7 separate regions of the Homo sapiens genome follow, and regions 1, 2, 3, 4, 5 and 6 are each linked to region 7. Evidence: promoter capture Hi-C in 16 types of primary human blood cells and fetal thymus (Javierre and others, 2016). All regions are on one chromosome and are shown on one strand. Each heading gives the region's core, a stretch centred on a gene start or on the middle of the fragment in contact. The rest is flanking DNA. Distances are from core to core; before and after follow the strand shown.

Region 1 (2,700 bases), core at 49-2,548, 600 kb after region 7:
TTGCACTGTAGGATATTCAGCAGCATCCCTGGCCTGTAGCCACTAGACACCAGATATACTTCCCCCACTCAGCTGTGACAATCAAAAATGTTTCCAAACATTGCTAAATGACCCTTGGGGCCCAAATCACCTCCCAGTTGAGACTCCTGGTGTAGAATAATTAAATAGATTGCTCTAGCTCATAGGACTCATCAACATCATGACCAGGAATGCAGGAACCCCAGTGGAATGCATTTGCCTCACTATGTACACTTTCATTTTCTCCCTCATATCTAGTAAGTCACAGCCTTTGAGAGTTGGAGTGAACTCAGAGCTGCACCTCTATTTTTCTGATGGTCTCATAGGCCTGCACAGGGCTCCATGCCTTAAGATAAAAGAAACTGAAGGGACAGCAGAGTCTGAAGGGACAACCCAAGCTGAAAAGAAAAAGTGACCTCAACCTGACATAATCAGCTTAAGGCTTATCAACTAGATTTCAAATAAATAGGATTTCTCCTGACACTTTGGATCCTAAGAAATTTGGTCACAAGCCCTGCAAAACAATGTTTCCCCCTCAAATCAGCTATGTCTGCAGTGAAAACTCCTACACTCATGCTTTCAACTCAACCCTGTGTACCCTCATCCCCTGCTTTTCATTCTGTTTTCTTTCCCTTCTTATTTATAAAGCTACAAGAAAGCTTGAATCCTTCAGCTTCTCTGGTCAACAACACCCTTTGAAAGCTTTTCTTCTAGAATTTGTCTTCACTAGAATTTGAGAACCATCTCCTTGCTTTCTGAATCTGATCTTTCGTTTCCTAAAAAGGCTCGATCACTTCAGGCAAGATATTTTTGGGAGCTGCTGGTAAGGACTTACCAATGATCACTTTTCTAAGTGAACTGCCATTAGCTAAGCACTCACGTACCATCTGAGGGGGCAGAAAGTAATTGCCCATTAATGCACTGCTGTTTCTCACCCACTTCCTTCCTCAAATCTTCCCCTGTGCTGTGTCCGGCACTCTTACTAACCTCTCCATTAGGAACATCTAGTTTCAAGTCTTAGAAGACTGTGTGTATTTCCCAGGGACTATTTTATGCTTTCCTATTTTATTCTCTTTGTAAAAGTCATTCAAGGATTCAGTACTAGAAAGATGGCAGAATAAGAAAATCTCTTGCTACACATTTCTAGAAAAACTGATAAAGTACAGAAATATATTTTCAAATATATTTGAAAAGATATATTGCTGAACTTGAAAGATATAAAAGGAAATCCCTAGGAGGAATTGAAATACAAAGGAGGAAGCGTGTGAATTGAAATTGCAGCTGTCCCATAGGCAGTAACTAGTCCTGGTAACAAAGATTTAATGGGTTGGGTTTTTTATGTGTTTTGTTTTGTTTTGCTTTGCTTTGCTTTGTTTTATTTTTTGTTTTGTTTAAGACAGAGTCTCGCTCTTTCACCCAAGCTGGAGTACAGTGGCCCCATCTCAGTTCACTGCAACCACCACCTCCCAAACTCAAGCGATTCTCATGTCTCAGCCTCCTGAGTAGCTGGGACCACAGGCACACGCCACCCACACAAGGCTTAATTTTTTTTTTTTTTTAAGTAGAAATATGGTTTTGCCATGTTGGCCAGGCTGTTCTCAAACTCCTGGCTTCAAGTGATCCACCAGCCTTGGCCTCCCAAAGTGCTGGGATTATAGGCATGAGCCACCATGCCCAGCCTAATGGGTAAGTTTTAATGTCCACTCAAGAGAAGTGATAAGGTCTTTAGACCTTATGTGGACAGAAGTTGGAACTAAGATTCTGCGCTAAGCTATAACCCTTAAAGAACTGTACCTTCAGTTAAATAAACTGCATGAAAATCAACTCTACAGCAAAAATAGATAACAAGGAAGCTTCTGTCTCTGAGTGAATGAGAAAAAGCAAAACCCTGAGAAATCAAAACTCAGGATTGTGTGTGACATGGATTTATGGGCTGAATTTACATGTTCAGCGGGATTCAGGAACACTTAGGCCAAGAAAATAACACCCCTGGGTCAAGTAAGAAAACCAAACAAAACTACTCTATTAGGCTACTCTCACAATCCTGAGTACACTGCATTTCCATGGGGAAAACAAGCACTACTAAACATGACTTGTAATCAAAATTTTTGAAGCACACAAGGAAATAATCAGCATAAGGATAAGTTAGCTAATACAAAGAACAAGAAGATTAAAGCTCCAGTACTTGAAATAATAGAAAAGATATGTAAAGAAATAAAATAATAGAATGCAATGAAATGAAAAAAAGATAATTTGAAAAAGTGGCAAATACAAAATTTCTTGTAATAAAATATATAATCATTGAAATTAAAGGCAATAGATAGGTTAACTATTAGATTATATATAACTAAGGAGAGTGTCAGTAAACAGGAAAACACATATGAGGAAACTCCACAGTATACAGCCCAGGGAGATAAAAATAGAGAAAATATGATTAAAGTTAACAGACATGGAAGACAGAATGAAGAGACCCAAAATATATCTAATGGGACTTCTATAAAGAGATCATAGAGACTGCAGAAAGACAATATTTGAAGATCTGTAGGATAAATTTTCTAGTATTGATGAAAGATATAAATCCTCCAAGTCAAGAAATTCAATGAATTCTAAGGAGGATAAATAAAAATAAATTCAACCTATACACACATATTCTAGTGAAATATCAAAAGATCCAAAAATATG
Region 2 (2,700 bases), core at 198-2,697, 570 kb before region 7:
GATTGAAAGAGAGAACAAATAAATATTTAAGACCCAAGCATGCACTAATAAGTACAGCATGAAATGAATCAAAGATTATAAAGATTAATTCAATTTTGTACACTGAAGTCTATTAACAAATATGATTGCAGGGATTGTGAGATTGCATTAAATGAGATAATGTACATCATGACCTACTAATGCACTAGCTGTCATCCAGTAGGTGTTCAAAAATAAAGTTAATCTCTCTATTCTCCTAGCCAAGCAGGGACCTTATCATGCTTCCCATAATTCAGGATTCTTAGTGCTTTGATCCTTTAGGGCTGAATCCTAAATTGCCCACTAACTTCCTTCCATTTCTTCCCTCCCTTCCTCTACCCTCCTGCTCCACCCCAGAGCAAATAAATCTTCCCTGTCCTATGTTACAGAGTTGTGGGAACAGGATATATGAGAAGGCTTTGAGACTATTCAGTGCCCCCAGTACACTCTTGTTTTCCTGTGTGCCCTGCATTCCATCAGTGGATGAAAGAAGGCACAACTCTTGAGCCTAGGTAGCTTCCAGTCCTTTGTGAGGCTCACTCACAGGTGGAAAGGACACATGGCCATGCTCTTGGTGTTCAGAGGGGAGAGAGACTGTGTGATCTGTAATATTCTAGGAGGATACTGGAGAAGGTGGTCTGAGGTTGCACCTGAAATGACATCCATGGGCTTAATGGAAAGTATCTTGGATTGGAACTTGGAGCTATAAAATCTTGTAAAATCTTGAGATTCTCACTCACTGGCTGTAGGTGGGCAAGTTAATTAGCCTTACTGAGCCCTGCTTTTCTCATCTGTGTAATGCAACTTGGAATGCTTGGAATGTAAACTAAGCACACATACTCACAACCAACACAATGCTGGGCACAGAGTGGACATTCCAAAAACATTTGCTGAATCTGAACCCCATATCCTCTCCAGAACCCTAGTTTCCCTCTGGGAGATTGGCTGGTACACTCACTCCGACTGGAGTGGAAATGGCTTTATCTAGATTTGGCAGGAAAGTGTCACTTTGAGTTTCAATGCTGACAAATTGGTAGGACAGATAGGTGACATTTGTCATGGGGTTGGAAGCAGTTTCCTGATTCCCAACCATGCCTCCTGAGCCCCATATCCATGGGAGCAGAACGCTGGGAAAAGATGTGACAAGTCACACGCACAGGTGCCTCTTTTCTCAACCGTGTGCCACATGGAACCAAGGAAATAGGACAATCAGAGCAGTCCCAGGAGGGAAAAGAGATCACTGAACAGCAATTCTGGAGAGCCCTGATGGTGAGGGAAACTGGGGGAGAGGGCTGATGAGGGGCACTGGTGATTTTATAAACCATAGGCCTTTTAAAGCTTGTTAGGCTTGGCTGGAGAAAGTTACCTCTTTTTATCAAAAATGTGACTTAGCCCAGTCCAGCAGCATGATTCGGTCTGTGGGACAGACAGGAAGCCTGGAGTGAATTCTGCCATTTATTTTCAAAACAGAGATATACTGAACACCCATTATGTGCTGGCCAGGGTGCTAATTAAGCTTTTTATATACTTAAAAAAAAAATCTTCACAGTATCTAACCATTGAATGTCTCCAAATATTCATTTTCTAGGTAAGAAACAGACTTGCCACAGTTTCTTAGGTCAGATGGGGTTATCCAGAGATAAACAGTGAAAATGTGGGTGCAGAAACCAGGAGTGGGGGTGGAGGTGACTGATGGTGGTGGGTGTTGCCCGCTGCCACAGACAGGAAGTAAGGGCATCCTGTATCTTAGGTCACCCCTGCCTGTCTAACTCAGAGGCGGGGGTGGTGTCTGCGGATTTTGACCAGGGCACAGTTATGAGACTTCAGAGGGCAAGGTGGCTCTGGAGGTCCCCAGCTCAGTTAGAAATATCCCTGCCATTCATTACTGACCTTTCCACAGAGCCAATCCTGCCACACTATGTGGTAAATGGAGGGTGACTAATGTGTGCCCATCACAACAGCCACATTTGCATTTAGCTGAGACAAAAGCCTCAGTTACACCAAGTTGGGGATAACAGTTGGTGAGATTTTAAGCATCAGTCAGAATTTGGGAGAGAAGGAAGAGTTTAATCACAAGGCCCTTTGGGTGCCCTGCTCACCATGCAAGAGGAGCTGAATTTTGTCCTGGTTGAAAATGCGGCCTGTCTTCTCTCCCCTACCCTCCTTATGTTTGAAACTCTGGGATATTTGCTTGTCTTTGTGTCTTTGTGAGTAGGGAAGATATTTGGGAGCTCTTTTTTGAGATAAGGTATATGAAAGTGTTTTATAAATAGTAAAAGGTTACATAAGAGCAAGGCGATGCTTTTATTACTGCTTCCTATGGAGCCAGCTGCAGGAGAAGGCCTCTGATCTCACTCCCAATAGGAGCCTTTCTCCATTCACTGGAGCCTGACCCAGATTGGACACTCAGGAATACATCTTATGTAAGATTTGGCTAAATTGAACAAAGCCCATCTTTCCAGTCCACGTTTGGGTTGATTTATTTCAATTAAAAGTTTCTATTGAGTGTTCACAATGTACACAGGCACTGTATATAGCTAAAGATATAAAGGAGAATAATATATACATGATTCCTATCTTCAAGGAATTTACAGTTCAGTGGAGAGATTTTTAAAAGGGTGGAAATCCTTTTGTTAAAGAAAATTTTAGTTAAAACTCCAATACCTAAAATGAAAAGGGAGC
Region 3 (2,700 bases), core at 171-2,670, 540 kb after region 7:
TCTACCCAAAGGAGGAGACATATTTCAACCACAGAATGGAAATGTAAACAGTTCCTTTAATTCTCAATTCTTGTAAATCTATAGAGTTCGCATTTATGCCATATCCACCTCTGCTTTGAAAACATACCTGGGGATTTTCACCCCACCTCCCTCTTCCACATACACTCATGCACAAGCACAAGAATGCACGAGTTTAACTGCCTTCAAATGAGAGCTCCAGGCCCAGGAGAACGGTCTGACTTAGAAAGCACCTTGCCATAATTTCTTTCCCTGTATCACCCTGAGTGAATGCAATGCCAGGAGACAAATAAAGTCCCAAACCAAACCACCCAGGGATTTCGAAGCTTTCTTCACTCCCTCTGGCTTTTCCTCCTCTTTGGTGATATCAAAGCCAATTCAGGCCCCACTCAGTTCTGTCCATATGGAGCTTCTGTCAATGGGTGGGGGTGGCAAGAAGAAGCCTTTCAGGAAACAGAAACCATCCCAACACCAATGTCTTACATCTGGAACACAGTGTATATTCAATATATATCTGTTGAGTGAACCAATGGTGCATCTCAATATAGAAAAAAGACAGAGTGCATACATGAGAAAAAATTCCCTCCCACCCAAGGCACAATCCCAACTCAGCTGCCCATCAACTACTAACTGGCACTCTCACTAGGAGTCTCCCTGAAGTAACTGGATTTATCAGCAGCACAGAGCTAAGAAGAGACCTTTAAGCTTCACATTTTGTCTTTTGCCCACCTCTCCCTGGAATCGAAATCCTATATTCTAACCTTATCTTTTCCATCATTTGCCCATCTGGGGGGAAATGCAATTGGAACAGAAATAATGTTCTGATAAAAGGAGATGCTGCAAGTGGCAGCTGTGCTCCCCAGTGTGGAGCTAGAAATGCACAAAAAGCCAGGGAGGAGGTGGAGATCTGTCAGAGGAGCAGCCAGCAACGATGCTGAGAGGAAGAACTGAAAAGTGGTAAGGCTTACAGGCTTGCAGACCTCCCCAACATCAGCATTAATAATGCTGATGCCAGGTTTAGTGCCTAGCATTAAGGCACTAAATAAATATCTGTTCATCTAGCAGCTCAGCTAAGTATCTCTGAGTCCCTTGCCTTGCTCCACTCAGCCTCGGTTTCCCCATCTCCTAAATAACAAGTTCTCATGTCTCCTCCCTCTACCCATTCTGCCCTTGCTCCCCATCTGCATCCTTCACCTGCCCAGAACAGTAAGGACAAGTAAAAGACAGGTCTCTGAGGTCCCGCCAGGCTCACTGGCCTGGTGATGCTATATAAATACCCACTGATATCATACTATTACCACAGGGATTCAAATTGGGCTGGGGGCCTGAGGACTGCATTCACAACTCTTCCCCCACATTCTCAGCCTCAGAGAGACAGTGCTGAGGAAAACTCTGCTTTCCTCGATCTTTAGCTGCTCAGGAAACTCTTGTATTAGGGCAGCCTCTTTACAGAAAACCCTCTAAAAATACCTATCAATATATATTTAGCTCTAGATAGCATCCTCCTACCAACAGGCTTCAGGCTAAATCGTTCTGCATGTGCCACTGGCGAGAAGCTGGGGATGAGGACGGCAGCTCCCAGCTTTACTGCAGCACTCCCTGGCTCTCCTCTCCCCTGCTCCCTTTTCCTCTGCCTCCCCTCTTTCTGCTTGGCTCTGCACATTCTCCCAAACTGCAGCTAAGGATGTGGAGATGGCTCCAACTTTTTTCCATGGCTTTCCTCAGAGTTGATTCCAGGGTAAAAAAGAAAAAAGAGTTGTGCCACATCCAGAGCAGACTCAGAGTGAAACAGTGAAATAGTGAACCCCCTGCTCAAAGCCTTCCGTGGCTCCCCACTGCCCTCTGGTTAAAGTACAGACTACTCAGAATGGCCTAGACTGGCCCCTGCTGACCTCTGCAGGTCTCTCCCCATGCCACCTGCCAGGCTTCCAGAAGTGTCCTGTGGTCTGTCTGTGTGCCTCTCTCCATGTGCCACCCCCACAGGGCATTTGTACATAGCATTCTTTCTCCCAGAAGGGCTCTTCTCCTTCCCTGCCCAGCTAAGTTCCATCTGTCCATCCTTTCCACTTGTTTAAATGTGACTTCTTTCAAGAAGCTTTCCCCAGTGCCCCAGGGCCAGGCTGGACACCCTTTCACGTTCTCATGTTGCGTGGCTCCAGCCCCCACCACCATGGAAGACACTAGGCCCCATTCCACCCACACCAAACACAGTACCTGGCACACAGTGGGTATTCAGCAATAGCTCTTGAGGGGCCTCCTAGGCCCTGGGGTGATGACCTTGGCAGAGGAAGGAGGAAGAGCCAGGCACAGACACACCTGCCCCTCCCCAGAGTCTACACCATGTGCTCCGCAGTAAAGGGAAGAGCCAACGCAGGTCACCTCCCACGCAAGGCTGACAAAACTCAGGAAAGAGCATATTTTGAGCTGATTTGGGGGTTTTCTTAGGAAAATAGACAATATTACCAACACTCAAGACTAGCTCTGTAATGTCACCAATACTTTAACATACAATGGAAAACAAAGACTTCCTAGATGGAAAGGGATAACACACTTTTCTCCATTTGGCCTGAACCCAAAGAGACACAAGGGAAATAGGGAAAGGAGACTAAATTGCTCCAGCAGCACAGGAACAGCTGGTGCTGTCGCTGAGTCTGAGGCAGTGACATCACTTGGCCTAGGGAA
Region 4 (2,700 bases), core at 117-2,616, 610 kb after region 7:
TGCTTCCTGTATAGCCTGCAGAACTGTGAGTCAATTAAACCTCTTTTCTTCATAAATTACCCATTCTCAGTATGTCTTTATAGCAGTGTGAAAACAGACTAATATAGGCACCCTCCTATGTGCCCCTGTGCCCCTATAATACCTTATATTTCCCAACCACTCCCCATAGCAATGATAACACTATATTGCATTTGCCATTTTAATTGAGAAATAAGTTGGTCATTTTTTGTCTTTGAATATCCAAAATAGATGTTTAATCAATGTTTCCTGAAATAAAACAAAGGAATTCACAGCCTAGCACCTTCACATAAGGTCATCTGTGGATAGGCATTGGCAGTGCAACAGAAAGAAGCCCCAGATGTCTGCTCTCCTGGGGCCTCCCACCCTCCTGGATACAAACAGAAAGAAGCCAACACCACTTCATGCACACTTCTGACTCTCAATGCAGAAGCTAAGGGGGAGAAGAGATCCCAATAGACATTATAAATTCCTCAGGAGCCAGGGCCTAAAAGCAAGTTAGTAATTTGCAATCCTGATATGTCAGAGTCAGGTCAATCAATGTGCAAAGACAGAATTGTGGTGTGCTGCCAGCCTGTCAGAGCAGTACCCAAATTGGAAGAAAAGAGCAAGAATACTGAAGCAGGACATAAGCCGATCACATTATTTAAAAGTGTGTATGTGAGCACACATATATGTGTATATGAGACTGAAGTAACTGCAGCCTCCATGAGTTGGTACTGTGGCAGGCATCTCAGGGATGGAACGGCATGTATCTTGAGATTTTTCTCATTCAGACACAAATGAAGTATCTCTGGCTTGGAAACGTGAGCTTCCAAAGTGCCACAGCATCAATAGTCTACCCACATCCAAACAAACTGCACTCAAAATAAATCAATTAACACACTGCTGGGGTGTTTCACAGAATGGGAGGCCTCCAGATGTGGCCCTGCCAATGGCCCCACCAAACTTGCCGCTCATATCTGCCCCATCCTATCTCCTTGCACCCTCAATTCCTGGAAGGTCTTTCTCTGCACAGCTCCTCCCATTATGACTGAGTTGGCACAGCCACTCCAGGCCGTTCTGTGCCAGTCAACCGTGCTGGCTGGGGCAGCTTGAATTGACCAAAGGCAGCCTCTCTGCAGAGTCCCAGGCAGCCTCTCTGCAGAGTCCCAGGCAGCTGAGATGAGCAGGACAGAGGAGGCTTGGACCAGCTTTCCGACTGGTATGCCCTCCACCTGTCACACCCAGGGGAGGCCCTGCAGGGATAAGATGCCTGGTTCCACTTTAAGCCACTTAGTTGACTTAGAGCTCAGCCCCACCAAAGGCCTTGAGACAAAGTCTCTTCACTTTATCAGTTATCTCTCTTTTCCCAGGTTGTGGTAATATACAATTGGTCTGCTGCTTATCAGAGGCTGGAGTAGGGGAAATGAGTAATCTATCTACGTCAAACTCAGACTTCAAACAGACTATAACGAACCTGGAGGAAACACATACATTTAAATAAGTGATTACTTCTGAGGCTTTTAGTTGAGATCCCAGGAGAAAAAATATGATGTGGTGGAAAGAGAAACATTCAGATTTGGAATCTTAGCCACCTGAGCTTGAGTCCTGACTCCTACGTTTACTAGCTTTTGGACTTCAGGAAAGTTAGTTAATTTCTCTAAACCTCAGTTAACTCATCATCAAACAAGGATAGTATCTATCTCATCTGGTTGTTGAGATGTTAGAATGAGGGGATGCATGTGCAGATCTAGCATGAGGTTTGGCATACAGTAGGTGCTCAAAAAAAGCTAATTTACCTCCTCCCCATTGTAACCTCTAGAATTTAAATTACATGTATTGTGTTTAATGAAGAAATCATATGTGGTACACAGAATAATGTCCCCCTCAAAGATGTCTACATCATAATCCCCAGAACCTGTAAATTACGGGAACTAAGACTGCAGATGGCATTGAGGTCGCTAATCAGCTGACCTTAAAATGAAGAGATTTATCATGGATTATCATGGTCTGACTAATTACATAATCTCTTATCTAATCACACCAGCTCTTAAAAGCAGAGATGAAGAGAAAAGAGTGAGTTCAAAAGACAGAGCATGAGAAAGACCCCACCCGCTATTACTGGCTTTGAAGATGGAGAGAAGAGGCCACAAGCCAAGGAATGCAGCAGCTTCCAGAAGCATGAAAGAGCCCTTAGGTTACAGCCAGCAAGGGAAGGAAACTGCGACCCTACAGCCACAAGACTTGACTTCTGCCAACAGCCAGAAGGAGCAGGAAATACGTTCTCCCTGAGAGCCTCCAGAAAGGAACACAGTCTGCCCACACCTTAATTTTAGCCTGGGGAGGCCCATACCAGGTCTCTGCTTTACAGAATTGTAAGATAATAAATTTGGAGTTTTTTTAAACTACTAAATTTGTGGTCATTTGTAAAGGCAGTAACAGAAAAACTAAAACACTTTACTATCTATACGTAGATTTAACTGCTTTTTTTTTTTTTCTTTTTAAGAGATGGTCTCACTCTGTTGCCCAAGTTGGAGTACAGAGGTGCAATCATATCTCACTGCAGCCTTGAACTCCTGGGCTCAAGCCATCCTCCCACCTCAGGCTCCTGGATAACTGGGACTACAGGCACACCACCATGCCTGGCTAATTTTTTTTTTCTTTTTTTTTTTTAGAGATGAGGTCTTGCTATGTTGCCCA
Region 5 (2,700 bases), core at 111-2,610, 570 kb after region 7:
TGTCCTGCATCTCAGCAATGATGCCATAATAGACTGAGTATCATCAAGGCTCCACCCATGATCTACACCAGAGCACTTCTTCCTTTCCCCTCTAGCCTGCTACCTACCATCCAGCTACATCCTTTTTAATCCCTCCCCCAAAGGGAAGAAAGATGACACCCCCCTTTAATGACACAAGTCTTTGGAAAGCTCAGGCATATATCTGAAGGAGGCTTTCCAAATTCTCCAGAGATGAAGAGAACCGATGCAGCCCAAATGCAGCAAAAATGCAGCAAAAGACAAAATGCAGCACACACACAAAAATATAGCCTCAAGATTATGCAGAGTTGCAACAGTGATTCAAATCAACCACCCACAGGCAAAAAAAAAAAAAAAAAACATGCTTGGCACAGGTGCCAGGCAGGGCCTCTCTCTGAAGCCTCACGTGGCTGGAGCGTGGCTGGAGCCTAGCTGGGCATAGCATTCCCAAGCCCCACCCACCTGCTTCTGGGATTAACTACTGCTTTACAAATGGGTCTATTTGAGGCTCCTTTTTTTTTTTTTAATAAGTAAGAGGATTAAGGGTGGAACTATCTAGTCCTACAAATTTGGAGCTCAAGATACAATAAAGGAAGCTCCTAAGAAGTACCCACTGCTCTGGGAGGTGGCAGGGAGGATCTCTTGGATAACCGACACATTTTAAAGTCATTCATTGCTGTTCCCCTTAATCTGGCCCATCTTCACCTTATAAGAACACATCTTCTAGCTGCTCCCTGCTTTCCAGAGATGAGGACACTGGGGCTCGTCAAGCTTTATAAGGAAACATATTTGGGGTGCTCAGTGAGCAAAGATACACCATAAACATCTCTCTGCAATAACCTTAACACTAAGAAACCACGAGGTTGGGGGAGTCTAAAAACTTTGTGCTATACCTTCTGTCCTTAATTAAGATTGATGCTGGAAACATGACTGATGGGTGAACCCACACGTGCATCCTCTCTGTGCATGTTTAGAAGGCTTGGGAAAAGTAACATTGATCCAAGCCCCTCATGTTTCTATCCCTCTGTGGAAGGGACTGCTTTAGAAGCCACATCGTGGTGGTGGTAGTGGTGGCGGAGTGTTAGACACTAATTTCCATGCCTGGTCCCCATAACTACCCCTGCTCCCTGTAATTCCTGTAAAAATTCACACTGGAATTTGAAAAGAAATGGTTACAGAGGACTGTTCCTTAGCCTAGTCGTTCAGCATTTATCAGTGTGAAAACCCAAGATGATGAGAGGATTCAGAGTGACACGTACCTTCCACTTAACCACAGTCTCTGAGTAGAAAAGGCTAGTAGTTGCATATTTTGGGGGCACTCAAATGTAACAGGGCTGGGTAGGAGGCAGTCATCATAAAAATGACAAGAAAAAGCAGGTTACAAGATTTCTCCCCAGCTTCCTTTCTGTTGTGTGACAGTCCCACTGCAGAAAACAAAGGTCTTAGAGAAAAAGTAGATTCCTGAAGTTGGTCCTCTGTGAGAGACCTTAATAATCCTACCCAAGAGGAAGACAAATAACCTTCCTTTTCTGAAAATCCTAGGAAAAACCCACACATATAATGAATTATTCACAAAGGCTGAACCTAAAAATGAGAGAGGGAGAAATATAGAAAGATGAAAAGACGGGCAGAAAGAGAAAGTAAAGACCTGGTCTCTCTCTCTCTCTGAATAAATGGATATTAATTAGAGTTGCATTTAGGTTTCCTCTTTTATGTCTTTGTGGTCAGTGATAAGCAAAATAAGATCAGCAGAGTCACCATTGATGGACTGGATTGCACATCTGGGCTTTGGTGTTTGGTGAGCTGTAGCTTTCCAGGCAGCCCTGTGCATGACGTAAGGGAGGTGGCTGACCTGCTCATCAAACACATGGAGTCAAGGGTTTGCAAGAGTTCTGAGAGCTTAGCAAAGCTTCACTCAGTTTTATTTTCACTAAGAATATGAAGATTGAAAGAAACCAGATGTTCCTATAAAGAAGGGGGAAAGCAGCAGAATTTGAGGGGGAAAAACACCTACATTTTGTACAGCAGTGCTATAAAGAGATAAGTAATTTTGGATGGAGCTAATAATTTCAGAGTCTGGATGTTTCAGAAGAAAAAAAAAGCAGGCCTGTTCTCATTACTTTCCTCTTCCTCCTTTAATTCATAGCATGCACTGCGCCTATTGCAGAAAAAGCAAGTGGAGGGAAGTGGAGAAATAATGACATGCAAACCAACAGACAAAACTATCACATTGAGGATATTTTTGTCTCTATCCTCAAGTCATTTCATTTCTGTCAAATTCCTTCACTCCAACTCATTTTTCAGGCTTCATCCCAATTATAAATGGTCCCCACAACAAGTCATGGCCTGGTTTCCACATGAAACATTACCCACACTTCATATCAAAAGCAAAGCCAACAGGCAATTCAGAGATTGTCCTGGGATGCTCAGAAAATGAAGAACTTTCTCCTACAGCTCCAGTACCAGCTGCAGTCACTATCTGTTTCACCATCTGCATCCACGCACAGGTACACAGAAGATATGAACCCCTCTGCATTATCTGATCATAGGATATAATTACAGACTTCATCCTTGTTAGCTGCCATCATCTTCCCTAATCAAGGCATCTTGACTCATGATTCACTAGTTACATCAAACCTGAAATTCTTACCGGGACCTCAGTCTACTATCCTGCAATGTGCT
Region 6 (2,700 bases), core at 80-2,579, 540 kb before region 7:
AGAGCTTGATATTCACCTGGTACCTGCCAGAGTCAAGAGAAGGGATAGGTTCTAACGAGGCTGCTATGATCAGTGACTTTTTAAGCTCGTGACAGCCCCACTTGTGTTGGGCTGTTGTGTGGATTGGACTGGGCTCAGCCCACTGTCATTTCAGAGCCCGTATCTTTTGCCCACCTGGCTGGGACTCGGCATGAGCCATTTCCAATTCTGCCTGTAACAGTGCAGGGGTCAGTACCCCTTGGTCAAGTAGCAAGACATCATCAGTTAGGTGGTGACTTTTGTAGGATTTTTACTTTTAAAAGTAATTTGTAATTAAATTCAATTACAAATCTTTTGTAATTTATATTCAAGAAATTATTATTCTTTTTATAATTTCATAGAAGTATCTGAGATGAGGTATATGAAGCCACTCTGTACATGAGGCTGCTCCATTCCATGGGCCAAGGGAATAAGGGTTGAACTGTGCTTGAAAGAATTTGGGGGTACGGAGACAGGCGCGGTGGCTCATGCCTGTGAGCACTGAGGGAGGGAGGCTGAGGAGGGTGGATCACTTAAGCCCAGGAGCTCAAGACCAGGCTGGGCAACATGGCAAAACCCAGTTTCTACAAAAAGTCAAACATTAGCAGAGTGTGGTGGCACATGCCTGTAGTCCCAGCTACTTGGGAGACTGAGGTGGGAGGATGGCTTATGCTGGGGAGGTCAAGGCTGCCATGAGCTGAGATCACTCTACCGCACTCCAGCCTGGGGGACACAGTGAGACCCTGGGGGTAGGTTTGCAAGGATCAAAATCTGTTCTTCCTCTGCTAATTGCCTGCTTGTTCTCCTTTTTCATCCTACTGAATCCCTCTCATTTTTTTCTGATTACGACTACTTAAAAAAATGTTTTCTTCTCTGTTGAATGATCTGTTTATACACAGATCTGGACCTTAAATGAACCTTTATTTCTTCCCTATTGATAGTCTGAGTAAAGTGATCAGACTTCAGGAACATGGGGTAGAAATCCCCATAGAATCACATCTTAAGCACAGATCTAAGGAGGGATTCTGTGGGTGACACCAGGGAGGATCCTGAAATTAAGGGCCTGGGAAGGAAGACAGGGACCAACACTGTGGCAGGCCCTGAGCTCTGTTAGTCCTTACAACAGCTCTGTGGAGTGGGTCTGAACACTTTATCATCCAGAGAAGGAAACAAGCTCTGAGAGGGAGGGACATGCTTGGGGCAGCCAGCCAGTGAGTGGCAGAATGGGGATCTGAACTCAGTTATGCCATGGGGAGTCCAGTCTGTGAAAGATGGGTGGAGGAATGTGACTGATAAGGGAAGGAAGAGCGGAGGACCCAGAAAGACAGGGAGGTACTAACACTCGCCCTTTCCTACTGCTCTCCTTCCATCTTTATGCCTTTAACATGCATGTATTGAGTGCATCGAAATCCCTCAGACCCAAATGCGTTGGGTCCAGCTTCTGCACAGGCTCACCAAGGCTTCCTTAGAGGACTCTCTCATCCTCTCCAATCAGATACCACAATTTCCCGGCGGGTCTCCCTACCCCAGCCTCTCCCTGTGCTGGTTCATTTTCCACACTGTGCCAGTCTTCAGCTCTAAAGCACAGATCTGAGCACTTTGTGGCTACGTTAGAACCCCTCAGCGGTTCACTTTTGACTCTAAAATAAAGTCCAGCTTTAATCCTGACACACAAGGGGGTCTCTGACCTGACCCAAGTCCCTCTCCAGACGTATCTCCTGCCTGGACAGCCTTCATTCTCAGACTTTTCCCTTCTCTCTCTCTCTCTTTTTTTTTTTTTGTGGCTACACATGCTGTTCTCTCTGCCTAGAACACCTCTTTCTCCTCTTTTTTAGAAAAAATTGGGGGTTGAGGTGCGAGGAGGAGAATGCCAACTTTCAAAATCCAGCAAAAACATCACCTCCTCAGTGAAGCCTTCCCAGATGTCCCTGTACAGAGTTAATTGCTCCCAACTTGCATGATTCTAAGACACAGTGTTCTTACTTTGATTGTAGCACATATGGTATTCCTCCATAACTTCTTTCTTCATGGCTTTTGCTCTCCTATTAAACTGAGCTCTTCAAAGTCAGGGTCATATTATTCACCTTGGTGAGATGGGGCAGAACAGACTACAGCAAAGCAGTTCTCCAGTCCCAGCTGTGGAGCCGGAATGTTGGGTTGGAATCCTGGCCATTCACCTTGGAAAGTTGCTTAAGCCTCAGCTGTAAAATGAGGATAATAAGAGTAAGCGTCACAGGGAACACTGAATGAAATAAAAGTGTGCGGCACAATGTTAATGCCTCATGACTATTGGCTATTATTATTATCTGATTCCCAGTACTTAGCACAGTGATTTGTATACAGTAGGCATTAGTCAAGTCAAAAAGTCTTTTGACTTCTTGAATAAAATGGCAGGATCAGAATTTCAACTCAGGATTCTAAATCTACTTTTTTTTTTAGCTGCTTCAGTACCATATTTTGTCTGATGTTTACAGCATTCCAGAATTTCAGAAAAAGAAATGGAAGGCTGGAGGCATTAAGTAAGCCAGGGTATTAGAGGGACCATGGGATTCCTGGAAACCAGGTCAGCCAACGCTGTTTTCAAATATGTGCCCTGTGACTGTGCGAGGCTGCTTGTCTCTCACCCTCTACTGCCTCACTGTGGCCATGCCAGGCAATGCAAGCTTTTAAAGTTTGGCTTCT
Region 7 (2,700 bases), core at 119-2,618:
TATATATACACCATGGAATACCATGCAGCCATAAAAAGGAACAGGATCATATCCTTTGCAGGGACAGGGATGGAGCTGGAGGCATTATCCTCAGCAAACTGGCAAAGGAACAGAAAACCAAACACCGCATGTTCTCACTTATAAATGGGAGCTGAACAGTGAGAACACATGGACACAGGGAGGGGAACAACACATATTGGGGCCAGTTGGGGGAGTGCGGGGTGGAGAGAGCATCAGGAAAAATAGCTAATGCATGCCGGGCTTAATACCTAGGTGAAGGAAGGGTTGATAGGTGCAGCAAACCAGCATGGCACATGTTTACCTATGTAACAAACCTGCATATCCTGCACATGTATCCCGGAACTTAAAATTTTTAAAAATCGTCAATAATAACAATGAAAGCAGCTAACGTTTTTGGGTACTTGCTATGTTCCAAACACCGAACTAAGCTCCTTACATGCATTATCTCATTTAATACTCCCCAAACTTCCATGATGGCAATAGTATCCTGGTCCCTGTTTTGCAGATGAGACACTAAGGCACACAGAGGTTAAATAACTTGCCCAAGATCACACAGCTAGTAAGTAGTAAGATTCAAACCCAGACCCAGACCGTGCTGTCAATCAGTATACTTTGTGACCACCTAGTGACATCACAGGAACCACACTTCCATCACCTATTTTAATGCCCTGAATGTTCATCCTAATAAATGCACATTAGACTTGAGTGGGTAAAAATTCTGAATGTACTGAGTCTTCTACCTTGGGCCAATCCTTCTCTTCAAAATGAACCTGCATGGGAATCAATGCTGAAAGTGGAAAGAGACCCCAGACAGGCCTGGCATCTGTATGCATAAGACAGAAAACCATCTCCCTGCACCCCTACTCCCAGTTAAAAGGCTGTGGGCATCTTTGAGCCAATGAATGGGCTGCTACAAAGAATTCTGGGAATCCCAACCCCTCACAGTTCTGCAACTCACAGTCCTGCAAAAGGTGGGTACTAGAATAGGGAGGTGGGCATATAGGCCAAATACTCTGTTCTGCCTTCCAGGAGGGAAAAAGCATGCTACCCAGGAAGCTCACAAGTGACATGTGGCCCATGGGCATACCAGGGCTAAAGTGAAGGATGGACTGCTCTGTGGAAGGAAGGAGTGAAAGTGAACAAGAGGCATAGGGCCACCTGCAGGAAGACTGAGAGGAGGGAAGGAGGAAGGCTGGCTTTGGCAGGGAGGGGAGGCAGGAGCAGAGGGAGCCAGAGGATCGGTTCAGGCAGTGAGAGAGGGCAGCCCCACTCTATTTCCCAGGCTGCTCTCTGGATGCAGGCAGGAAGGTTGAGTGTATTACACTGGCCCCACCTCCAGAGGCTCTCTCTGCAGCCGCTGGACTGGACACAAAGCGTGAGAGACAGAGACACCATCTCTGCTGATTTGTACCTAACTGGTTCCTGTTGCTGAGAGCCCACGTGTCACAGAAGCCAGGGCAGAGGCCCCACACTGCTGTCTGCATTTCCCAGGTAAGCAACCGTCTGTGTGTGAGCCAGGAGTGGAGAGCAAGGCCTGAAGGCGGTGAGCAGAGAAGAAAGTAGGAGGCGGCTGCCTAGGATGGACTTCAGTACAATCTGGAAAGAATGAAGGAAAGAAGAGGGGTATGGGCTGGGGTTGCAACAAGCCCTTAGGGTAGGCTTCTGCAGAGTGTTGATGGATGTATGAGGTTGGGGAGTCAAAGGCTGCATTTGGTCCACTCTTGGCTGGCAAGTGCAGAGGAAGTTCCAGCAAAGGACTGCTCTGACAGCCTCTGGGGACTAGCACATCTGGGGAGCAGAGAGGCCCGCCATACCATGGCATCAGTGTTCCTCTTTCAGACCAGGTATATTTGTGCAGACTTTGCCAGAAAATCCCTCCCTGTGCCCCTGCCTGCCTCCAGGTCTTCCTGGTGGTCGAGAGCATGCGTGTGGCAGCGACAGGAGGAAGAAAGCAGGACATATTCACTGGGGATATGGCTTCAGATGGAGGAGGGATACCTCATCTGAAAAGAGAGTCTCCTGACGGGCTCTGGAGAGGAGATTGGTTAGCTAGTGGAGGGCTGTGTGCCACCCTAAGGAGGCTCCCCTGTGGCCCAGAGGAAAAGAATGACACACAGACTGTGGAAAATGGGGTATTTGTGCTGGAGGTGGGGTGGGGAGCGGGTAAAGTCAGTGATCTGTGAACAGTGCCACAGAAACAGGCAGTATGTTGTCGTAAAGAGGGAAAGAGACCTAAGACATGTGTTTCATACAAATCCAGCATCCCTTTGCTGTCCCTGCTGGGGGACCTACAGCCCCGGATCAAGCCTGCTGGTCTGAGCAAGTTCTATGAGGTTGGCTAGTGGTATGTCCCCTCTATGAACTACACATTCACTCCCTAAGATCCACTATGCTGAAAATATGTCAGATCTGGGCTCCTGTCAAAAGGCATGCCAGCTACCCTCTGCCATGTGATGGGTGAGGGAAGCAGTGAGAGAAGAGGAGTGGTCCCTGGGCTTTAGGGCACAAAGAGACGTGAGATGCTGAATTCCAGTCACAACTGCAATGTGTCCTCCCTCCATCCATGGCTTCTGTATCCAGAGCAGAAAGTGAGGATTCCTCCATACTGCTCCCTCTTCATACACACAGGGTAACTGGGCTCATGATCAGGCAGAAACCAGGGAAGAACAGTTTAATGAG

The links. Contacts are between HindIII fragments. The CHiCAGO score rates a contact against its expected background, and 5 or more counts as called.
Region 1: a fragment that was not itself captured here is called in contact with the fragment with the promoter of ZNF648 in region 7 in 5 of 17 cell types (M2 macrophages, endothelial precursors, M0 macrophages and 2 more); the score reaches 7.7 in M2 macrophages.
Region 2: a contact is called between a fragment that was not itself captured here and the fragment with the promoter of ZNF648 in region 7, in 1 of 17 cell types (erythroblasts). The highest score is 5.9, in erythroblasts.
Region 3: a contact is called between a fragment that was not itself captured here and the fragment with the promoter of ZNF648 in region 7, in 1 of 17 cell types (neutrophils). The highest score is 6.3, in neutrophils.
Region 4: a contact is called between a fragment that was not itself captured here and the fragment with the promoter of ZNF648 in region 7, in 1 of 17 cell types (total B cells). The highest score is 5.3, in total B cells.
Region 5: a fragment that was not itself captured here is called in contact with the fragment with the promoter of ZNF648 in region 7 in 11 of 17 cell types (naive CD4 T cells, M0 macrophages, M1 macrophages and 8 more); the score reaches 11.3 in naive CD4 T cells.
Region 6: a fragment that was not itself captured here is called in contact with the fragment with the promoter of ZNF648 in region 7 in 1 of 17 cell types (erythroblasts); the score reaches 5.0 in erythroblasts.

What each region holds. Positions count from the first base shown.
Region 1 is chr1:181,465,259-181,467,958 of GRCh38, reverse strand. It overlaps a transcript of CACNA1E not described here. Among named protein-coding and RNA genes, the nearest start is that of CACNA1E, 17 kb to the left of the region's middle. The HindIII fragment of the contact is 1,151 bases long and covers 723-1,873 here.
Region 2 is chr1:182,628,951-182,631,650 of GRCh38, reverse strand. No RefSeq gene overlaps it. Among named protein-coding and RNA genes, the nearest start is that of LINC01686, 15 kb to the right of the region's middle. The HindIII fragment of the contact is 178 bases long and covers 1,359-1,536 here.
Region 3 is chr1:181,516,567-181,519,266 of GRCh38, reverse strand. All of the region lies in intron 3 of CACNA1E (calcium voltage-gated channel subunit alpha1 E), which reads right to left. Among named protein-coding and RNA genes, the nearest start is that of CACNA1E, 34 kb to the right of the region's middle. The HindIII fragment of the contact is 1,390 bases long and covers 726-2,115 here.
Region 4 is chr1:181,447,334-181,450,033 of GRCh38, reverse strand. It overlaps a transcript of CACNA1E not described here. Among named protein-coding and RNA genes, the nearest start is that of CACNA1E, 35 kb to the left of the region's middle. The HindIII fragment of the contact is 3,369 bases long and covers 1-2,700 here.
Region 5 is chr1:181,488,222-181,490,921 of GRCh38, reverse strand. All of the region lies in intron 1 of CACNA1E (calcium voltage-gated channel subunit alpha1 E), which reads right to left. Among named protein-coding and RNA genes, the nearest start is that of CACNA1E, 6.1 kb to the right of the region's middle. The HindIII fragment of the contact is 1,138 bases long and covers 792-1,929 here.
Region 6 is chr1:182,595,790-182,598,489 of GRCh38, reverse strand. No RefSeq gene overlaps it. Among named protein-coding and RNA genes, the nearest start is that of RGS16, 7.2 kb to the left of the region's middle. The HindIII fragment of the contact is 2,709 bases long and covers 1-2,683 here.
Region 7 is chr1:182,060,380-182,063,079 of GRCh38, reverse strand. It overlaps ZNF648 (zinc finger protein 648), which reads left to right and starts at 1,368. Exons shown (of 2, transcript NM_001009992.1): 1 at 1,368-1,512. The HindIII fragment of the contact is 14,548 bases long and covers 1-2,700 here.